Linked DNA regions of Homo sapiens: region 2 is linked to region 1. Evidence: promoter capture Hi-C in 16 types of primary human blood cells and fetal thymus (Javierre and others, 2016). All regions are on one chromosome and are shown on one strand. The core of a region is centred on a gene start or on the middle of the fragment in contact, and the rest is flanking DNA. Distances in the headings are between cores, read along the strand shown. Region 1 holds the start of SLC30A1 (solute carrier family 30 member 1). Region 2 overlaps RCOR3 (REST corepressor 3).

Region 1 (3,539 bases), core at 585-3,084:
CTTTTAGTTCAGTACGATTATGAAAAGTCCTGGGAAAATGTTAAACATGCCCAGACAGGTCCTAAATCTATGATTTCCAGGATTAGGGATCAATTAGCTGAAGCATACACTGCTGTTCATAAAAGAAACCTTTAACCAGGGTTTACACGCTCTGAATGCATATTATGAAACGGAGTTCAATGGGCATAAGAACTACTTTGGCAGAGCAAGGTTTCCAGCACCCAACTACTGGGGACGAATTGGGGATTCTCTCCGTTTCCCAAGAGGGCCAAGGAATTGAATTGGGAAGCATTTCTGACGCTGTTATAACCATAACCAGACAAGTCTCCAGCAAAGTTGCTGCAGCCTGTAAAGACAGCCAAGTGCGGGTGTGGACTGCAGCGGGATGATGATCACCTCCTGACCCTTTTTCTTAGGGTCTGACCCACAGCCCCCACCTACAAATATGCCAGACGCGTCGCCGGCTCCTTGCACCCGACTGAGGGGGTTCTGATTTCCTGGAGCAGCAGCGGGGCGTGTGCAGGACGGGGAGGGAGCAGGCAGGGGCGGCGCGGCGCAGGCCCGCTCGGGCAGCAGGGGGCGTGCGGGCCACCCCGCCGAAGGCCAGGCGAGGCTCTGGGCACCCCAAACCCAACCACCTGCGGCAGCGACTTTCCCGGCTCACCTGCGGGGTCCAATTTCAGCCCGTTGGAGTTGCTGGTATTGGCCACCAGGGTGTTGGTCTCCTCCTGGTCGGGACCCTGCTCGCCCGGGGCCACGTTGATGTCGCTGCTCCCGGGGCGGGTGCTCTTAACGCGAGGCCCCTTGGGGAGGCCGTGGCCGTGGCCGTGACCCCCGTGCGAGTGGCCGTGGCCGGAGTCCTGGCTGAAGCCGCTGTGATGGTGGAAGAGGCAGAGCCCCAGCACGTTGACCAGCAGCCCGGCCACGCCGACCCCAAGGACCACCAGCGGCTGCTGCATCTCGTGCGGCTCGATGAAGCGCTCGATGGCCTCCAGCAGGATGGCGAAACAGAGGCCAGTCAGGAAGATGGCGTTCACCAGAGCCCCCATTACCTCGGCTCGGATCCAGCCGAACGTGTTCTTCTGGGTGGCGTGGGTCCGCCGGGCGAAGCGCTCGGCCACCAGCGCCACCACCAGCGCCAGCACGTCCGACAGCATGTGGAAGGAGTCGGAGAGCATCGCCAGCGACGAGGTCACCCGGCTCACCACCACCTCCAGCACCATGAACATGAAGGTCAGCGCCAGCATGCACAGCAGCCGGCCCCGGTTCCGACCCCAACACCCCATGGCTGCGGCTGCGGGGCCCGCCGAGCCCGGCCCGGAGACTGGTGCAGCGGCGGCGTTGGCGGGACGCGGAGGGTCGGCGACCGCGACACGGAGGAGCGCCCGAGTCGGGCCGTTCGGGAAACCGCTGAGGGGCCCCCGCGGCCGCACGGGGACAAGCCCGGGTCAAGCCGCCGAGCCCCGCGCCTGTGGGCGTTCTCCGCCAGCCGGCGGCGCCGCGCCGCGCAGCTCCTCAGGCGTCCGTCCTCAGAGCCGGCGCCGAGGCCCGGCTCAGCCTCAGCAGCCCCCACACCCAGGCGGCGGCGGTGGCGGGGAGCTGGGCTCCCGGAGCCGGGGTACCAAGAGCCGCAGCCGGAGCAGGAGCAGGAGGGCGGCGGGCGAGGGCGGCAGGAGAGGGCGACGGGCAGCTTCGCGCCGAGAAAGCTCCGAGCATCTGAGGGCTCTGCTTGCTGGTCTCCTCTGCGGCGGCTGGACTGAGGAGCGGATGGCTGAGGAGCTAGAGAGGCGGCGGCCACGGCAGCTGCACTCGGCCCGGTCTCGGGCGCCTTCTTCGCCCCCCCGCCTTTGCAGACGGTTTACAAAAAAACTTTGCTTTGCACTCGGAACCCCCGTTTTCACACGGACCCGAGCGTGACAAGGCCTTGCCGCCCCGCCCACCAGGCCCGGCACGCTTCCCCATTGGTCAGGACCCCCTCACGACAGCCTCGGCGTCCCGCCCAGCCACGCTCACTATTGGATGGAGCCTCGGAGGGGCGGGAAGGGGGCGGGGTCGCGGCTCCAACAGATAGGGGCGGGGCCTTTTCCTCCCGGAGCCGGGCGTGGGCCGGGGGGCCGTGGCCGGGTGCAGCGGCGGGCGAATTGGGGGCGCGGGCCGCGTGCAGCGGGAGGGGGAGGGGCTGGCCGGGTCCCCTCGGGTGTGGCGGAGTCCTGGCCTGCGGACCATCGCAACTCCCAGCACACCTGCGGGGGCCGGGCTGCAAAGTCTGCAAACAGACTTTGATCCTCCGAGCCCAGTCCACGTGGGGGCGGGCCGCGCGGCGGCTGTGTGACAGCTCGGCGGCGGGGGAGGGGCCGGAGGGGAGCCCCTGAGCGCGGGGCCCTCGAGTACTCGGTCCTGTCGGAGGAGGCCGACAGACGCATAAACAAGTGCGACTGTAACTTGGGACTCTGCTGGACGCCGAGCTGAGGAGTTAGTCCTCCCGAAGGTCTGCTAGGGGCGTGGACCGAATCTTTGTACATGTTTTGGGAAAGCCAGTTTCTCCTATCACCATCAACCCCTGGAGACCTTGTGTGAACTCAGGTGTCTGTCACTGATTATCTAAGGACAGTTCAGGGTACAGACTTCAGGCAGGAGAAACCTGGGCTCTGCTCCTTGCCTTGTCAATAGCCAGCTGTGTGGCTTTGAGCAAGTCACCTAATCTCTCTAGACCTGTTTCCCCATCTATAAAGGACTGGACAAATGCAACTCTGAAGATCCCCGTCTGACTCCAAAATTCTAAGGCTCTATGATTTAACATTTATTTATAGACTACACACGGTGGAATCTTGTGCTGGTTGCTATGGGGAGGTGGAGGGGCAGTAAGAATACAAAGGAACGAGTTTCTGTCCAGGTGGAGGTAAAATATAAACACGACATTTTAAAATTACGATGGAATACTCTTGATAAATTGTGCTATTTTAGACTGAATACATAAGCACTGTGTTGTGGGTGGAGATGAGTTGATCTGGAAAGGAACAGCTTGCCCATCTAAGGTGGGGTGGTGGCTGGAATCAGAGTGGCTTAAGCTGGACCTGAAAGGCCTCACCACAGCCCCTGCGCAGCAGAAGGACCTCCCCACCCACTGCCCTAGATTACTACTGGACAAATGCAGTGCCAGCTATTGCCTGGAGATGTGTATACAAGGCTTGTTTGGAGCTGTTATTTTGCATTGTTTTGGTATTCTTGTAATTCCTATGAAATTTTTTTCACTTGTATGTAGTGTGTTTCTAGTCTCCCCATCCAGACTGGAGAGCTGGATCCTCACCTTCTGTTTCTGTTTTGCTGGAATATAAAGAATGGAGGAAAATTTTCAAGACATTATTAAGGAAAAAATGATAGAATTTGATGATTAATTGGGTATTGGGAAGGAGGAAGCTAGGTAGGAGAACAAAGATAGTTATAATGTTTCTAACCTGACAAGGAAAATACTGCCTTAAACAGGTGAGGAAGTTGGGAAGGGAGGCCAAGAAGCTGATTTTTAGGAGAAAATATGAACT
Region 2 (3,910 bases), core at 737-3,236, 260 kb before region 1:
TATGCTTGCTGCTTAATCAAAGGATTAAAGATTTAAAGATGTCTATGTCTTCTATTTTTATATAATTTCATGTTCTATGAGGAATTTAGTACCTCTTCACTGTGAAATTCGAAATAATGATTTTTATAAAAGCAAAACTAGAAATCTTTTAATGACAATTTTCATTAATTTCAGGGTTATCATTTTTGAGAAATCTACACCAAAGTGGTTTTTTAAAATTACATAACTAAAAATAAACCACACTGTGGATACATCTTATAAAACTAATGGAAACAATGTTTTTCTATATGATTTAATTCTAGTGTAATATGGATGAGGTAAGAGTAAGTTATGATCAAACTTTTTATGTTCTTAATAAGCTTGCAATTGAGTAAAATAGAATATAAAATAAAGGTGAAATAATATAAAATTTTGTCTTAATGTAGGCCTACATTCTTTTTAGGAATAGATGTAGAGAGCAAGCCAAGAACGTGACTATCATTTTTAAGAATATTAAAAATTGCAAGTACAGTCATGCCCTTAACAACGGGGATATGGTCTGAGAAAGGTGCTGTTAGGTGATTCTTTTGTGCTGTGAATCAGATTGTACTTGTACCAACATTGGTGGCAAAGTCTACTACACACCTAGGCTATATGGTATAGCCTTTGCTCCTAGGCAACAGTCCTATGCTGTACAGTAATATACTGTACTGAATATCATAGGCAGTTATAACACAGTGGTAATATCTGTGTATCTAAACATAGAAAAGGTATAGTAAAAATACAATATTTTATATATTTATTTTTTGAGACAGGTTCTCACTCTGTCGCACAGGCTGGAGTGCAGTGGCGGGATCTTGGCTCAGCAACCTTTGCCTCCCAGGCTCAAGCAGTTCTCCTGTCTCAGCCTCCTGAGTGTCTGGGATTACAGGCGCCCGCCACCACACCTGGCTAAGTTTTGTATTTTTTAGTAGAGATGGGGTTCCACCGTGTTGGTCGGGCTGATCTTGAAGTCCTGGTCTCAGGTGATCCACCTGTCTTGGCCTCCCAAAGTGCTGGGATTACAGGTATGAGCCACTGCTTCCTGCTGATGTTATAATTTTAAAGAACATCAGTGTATTTGCAGTCACTGACCGAAATATTGTGTGGTGCATGACTGTACTTGGGTTAAAGTACCTAGTTTAGTTATTAAGTATGTTGTATTAATTTTATGTTCCCTCCTGTTATCAAAAGGTTATTTATGAACATTAATAACTGCTAACTAGTTAACACTGGGGTGTCAGGATCTCCTCAAAAAGAATAGTAATCTGACTTCGAACTCTAAGAAGAATCTATCTTTCTCTTTGTGCATGCCCAAAATAAATGACAAATACATTCTTATTAGAGGACACACAAGAAAAAAAGTGTTTTTAAATTTAGCCATTCATTATAGATTACATCGTTTATAAGAAAATAACAGAATAAATGAATACGGAAAGAACCCAAGAATCAAGTTTGAGAAACCATTCCATATTAGAAAATGCCTACAAGAAACTTTTGACATCTGATTTATGGTAGTACCTGAACTGTTTTCACCTAGGAAAGAGTAGGTCATGTGTAACTCCCCACAACTTCTTTATCATAACTGCCTTAGGGAAGGAATGTTCTGCAGCAGTATATTAGTGACAATGGAGTTTGAGAATTAAACATGACAAGGAATGCTCCTAGATGTGTGAGTTTGTGTCTAAAGGGCCATGTGGCTTTATCTGCCCTTTTTTGCTCTCCTAAGTCTATATAGCTAAGGGAGAAACAGTGAAGATCAGAAGTTAATATTGGGTTGAGATGTTTGCCAATTGTCATTACTTGGTTTAAAGTAGACAATTGTTTATTAATAAACGGAACAGTCTTTACAATGCAGTAATCTAAACTTTAGAATCCTAAAGCAGGAATCTGGGTGAGCAGGGTCTCTAAGGAAAAAATGCTGGTGATGTGAAGTGGAGAGATCTAAGAACAGTCTTCACAATGTAAATGAGGTCAAAGTTGATGTCACAGAATGCTTCATATGTTTCCTTCCCTTGGACTATTTTAAGAAAGGTGAAATTTTTATTCTGTACAATTTAATCTTATTTGTAAGGTACAGTTACCAATAACTAAGAAGATGCTGAATAATACCACAACACAAGGTATCTCTTGAGGGATCTGTCTAGTTTACTACCTGGAACAGCTTTCTTATTTGACAGGATTTGGCTTGAAGAGGCCTTTAATCCAAAGACCATTTTGTTGATATCCTGCCTCTTCATCTTTTCCAAAAGAGTTTGAAAATAATCAGAATCATTGAGGGCTTGTGGCCTATATTTGCAAAATAATTGCCCACCAACCTTTAACACAATGAGTTTTCCAACTCCACTAAGCAAGTTACTTAATCTCTGTGAGCCTCATTTTCCTCATTTGGGGAGGAATATATAAACTGGGGCATATAGTACCTGCCCAATGTATGTTAGAGGTTTTTACATGTCTACTTATACCATACCCTTCTTAATAAGGGAAATGTATTGTGACTTTTTTTTTTTTTTTTGGACAGAGTCTCGTTCTGTCACCCAGGCTGGAGTGCAATGGCGCAATCTCAGCTCATTTTTTTAAAAAAATTAAAGTGCAGTGCAAAAATGAGAGATTAATTTCAGTTCAAGATGACAGACTGGACATAGTCTTTTACTTTTCTTACCCATAATCTCCCCCTGCCAGTCTTACTGAAATGACAAGAAATAGAAAAACCAAAATAACCCTTAGCAGTGCTAGGAAGCCAGAGGAGGAGCTACCAGCAGATGGGGATACATTTATGACAAAAGCCAGCAGAATTAAGGAACCTCTAATGTGACAAAGAGCTGAAGCCAGCCTTTTGCTAACAGCCAGCAAAGAACTCAGGCCTTCAGTTCAACAACCTGCCAGGAACTGAATCCTGCCAACATCCATGTGCACTTGAAAATGGATCCTTCCCCAGTTGGGTCTTGAGATGACCAGAACCCAGCTAACAGCTTGATTGCAGCCTATGACTTGAATAACACACCTTTACCTAGTTGAAATGTGGGATCATTCTACCCAACAGCAGAATAAACATTGTTTCCATGTGCACATGAAATATTGCTCAATATCAGCACTACTGACATTTTAGGTTAGATAATTCTTTTTTGTGCATTTAGAATGTTGAACAGCATCCTCAGCCTCTACCCACCAGATACCAGTAGAACCCCCTTCCCCAGTTTGAGAATCAAAAATGTCTCCAGACATGGTCAAATGTCCCATAAGGAGCAAAATCACCTCCAGTTGAGAATCATTGCAATATATCATATTAATAAAATAAAGGAAAAAAGCCATATGATTATGTTGATAGACACAGAAAAGATATTTGACAAAATCCAACACCTATTCATGATTAAAACTTAGAAAACTAGGAATGCTTCCCCTCAGGATGGAAATCAAGGCAAGGATGTCTGCACTCACAACTCTATTCAGTGGTTTACTGAAGGTTATAGCCAGTGCAATAGGCAAGAAAAAAGTATAGAGATTGGAAAGGAAAAACTAAAATTGTTTTTATGTGCAGATGACATGAAATTGTATGTAAAAAATCCCAAGAAACCTGCAAAAACTAGAATAGTAAGCAAGCTTAAGAAAATCAGAGGATACAAGATCAATGTACAATCAATTGTATTTTCATATAATGGCAACAAGTGATCTGAGAATGGAATTAAGAAAATTTTATTCATGATAGTATCAAAAAATAGGAATAAACAAAAATGTGCAAGACTTGTCCATGAAAAACTATATTGCTGAGAGAAATAAGACCTAAATAACTAACTGTTCATGGATTGGAAGATTGATATTGTTAAAATGGCATTTCTCCTCAAACTGATTTATAGATTCAATCTAATTCTTATAAAAATCCTAGCAGGCTTAT

Evidence for each region. The method cuts DNA at HindIII sites, captures the fragments that hold promoters and counts their contacts. A CHiCAGO score of 5 or more calls a contact.
Region 2: a contact is called between a fragment that was not itself captured here and the fragment with the promoter of SLC30A1 in region 1, in 1 of 17 cell types (M2 macrophages). The highest score is 5.0, in M2 macrophages.

Annotation. Positions count from the first base shown.
Region 1 is chr1:211,577,327-211,580,865 of GRCh38, forward strand. It overlaps SLC30A1 (solute carrier family 30 member 1), which reads right to left and starts at 1,835. Exons shown (of 2, transcript NM_021194.3): 1 at 665-1,835. The coding sequence starts at 1,286. RefSeq lists silencers at 465-814, 1,315-1,624, 1,865-2,424 and enhancers at 925-1,034, 1,007-1,508, 1,509-2,008. The HindIII fragment of the contact is 24,351 bases long and covers 1-3,539 here.
Region 2 is chr1:211,315,977-211,319,886 of GRCh38, forward strand. RCOR3 (REST corepressor 3) reads left to right here. Exons shown (of 12, transcript NM_001136223.3): 12 at 1-409. Among named protein-coding and RNA genes, the nearest start is that of TRAF5, 8.9 kb to the right of the region's middle. The HindIII fragment of the contact is 3,259 bases long and covers 358-3,616 here.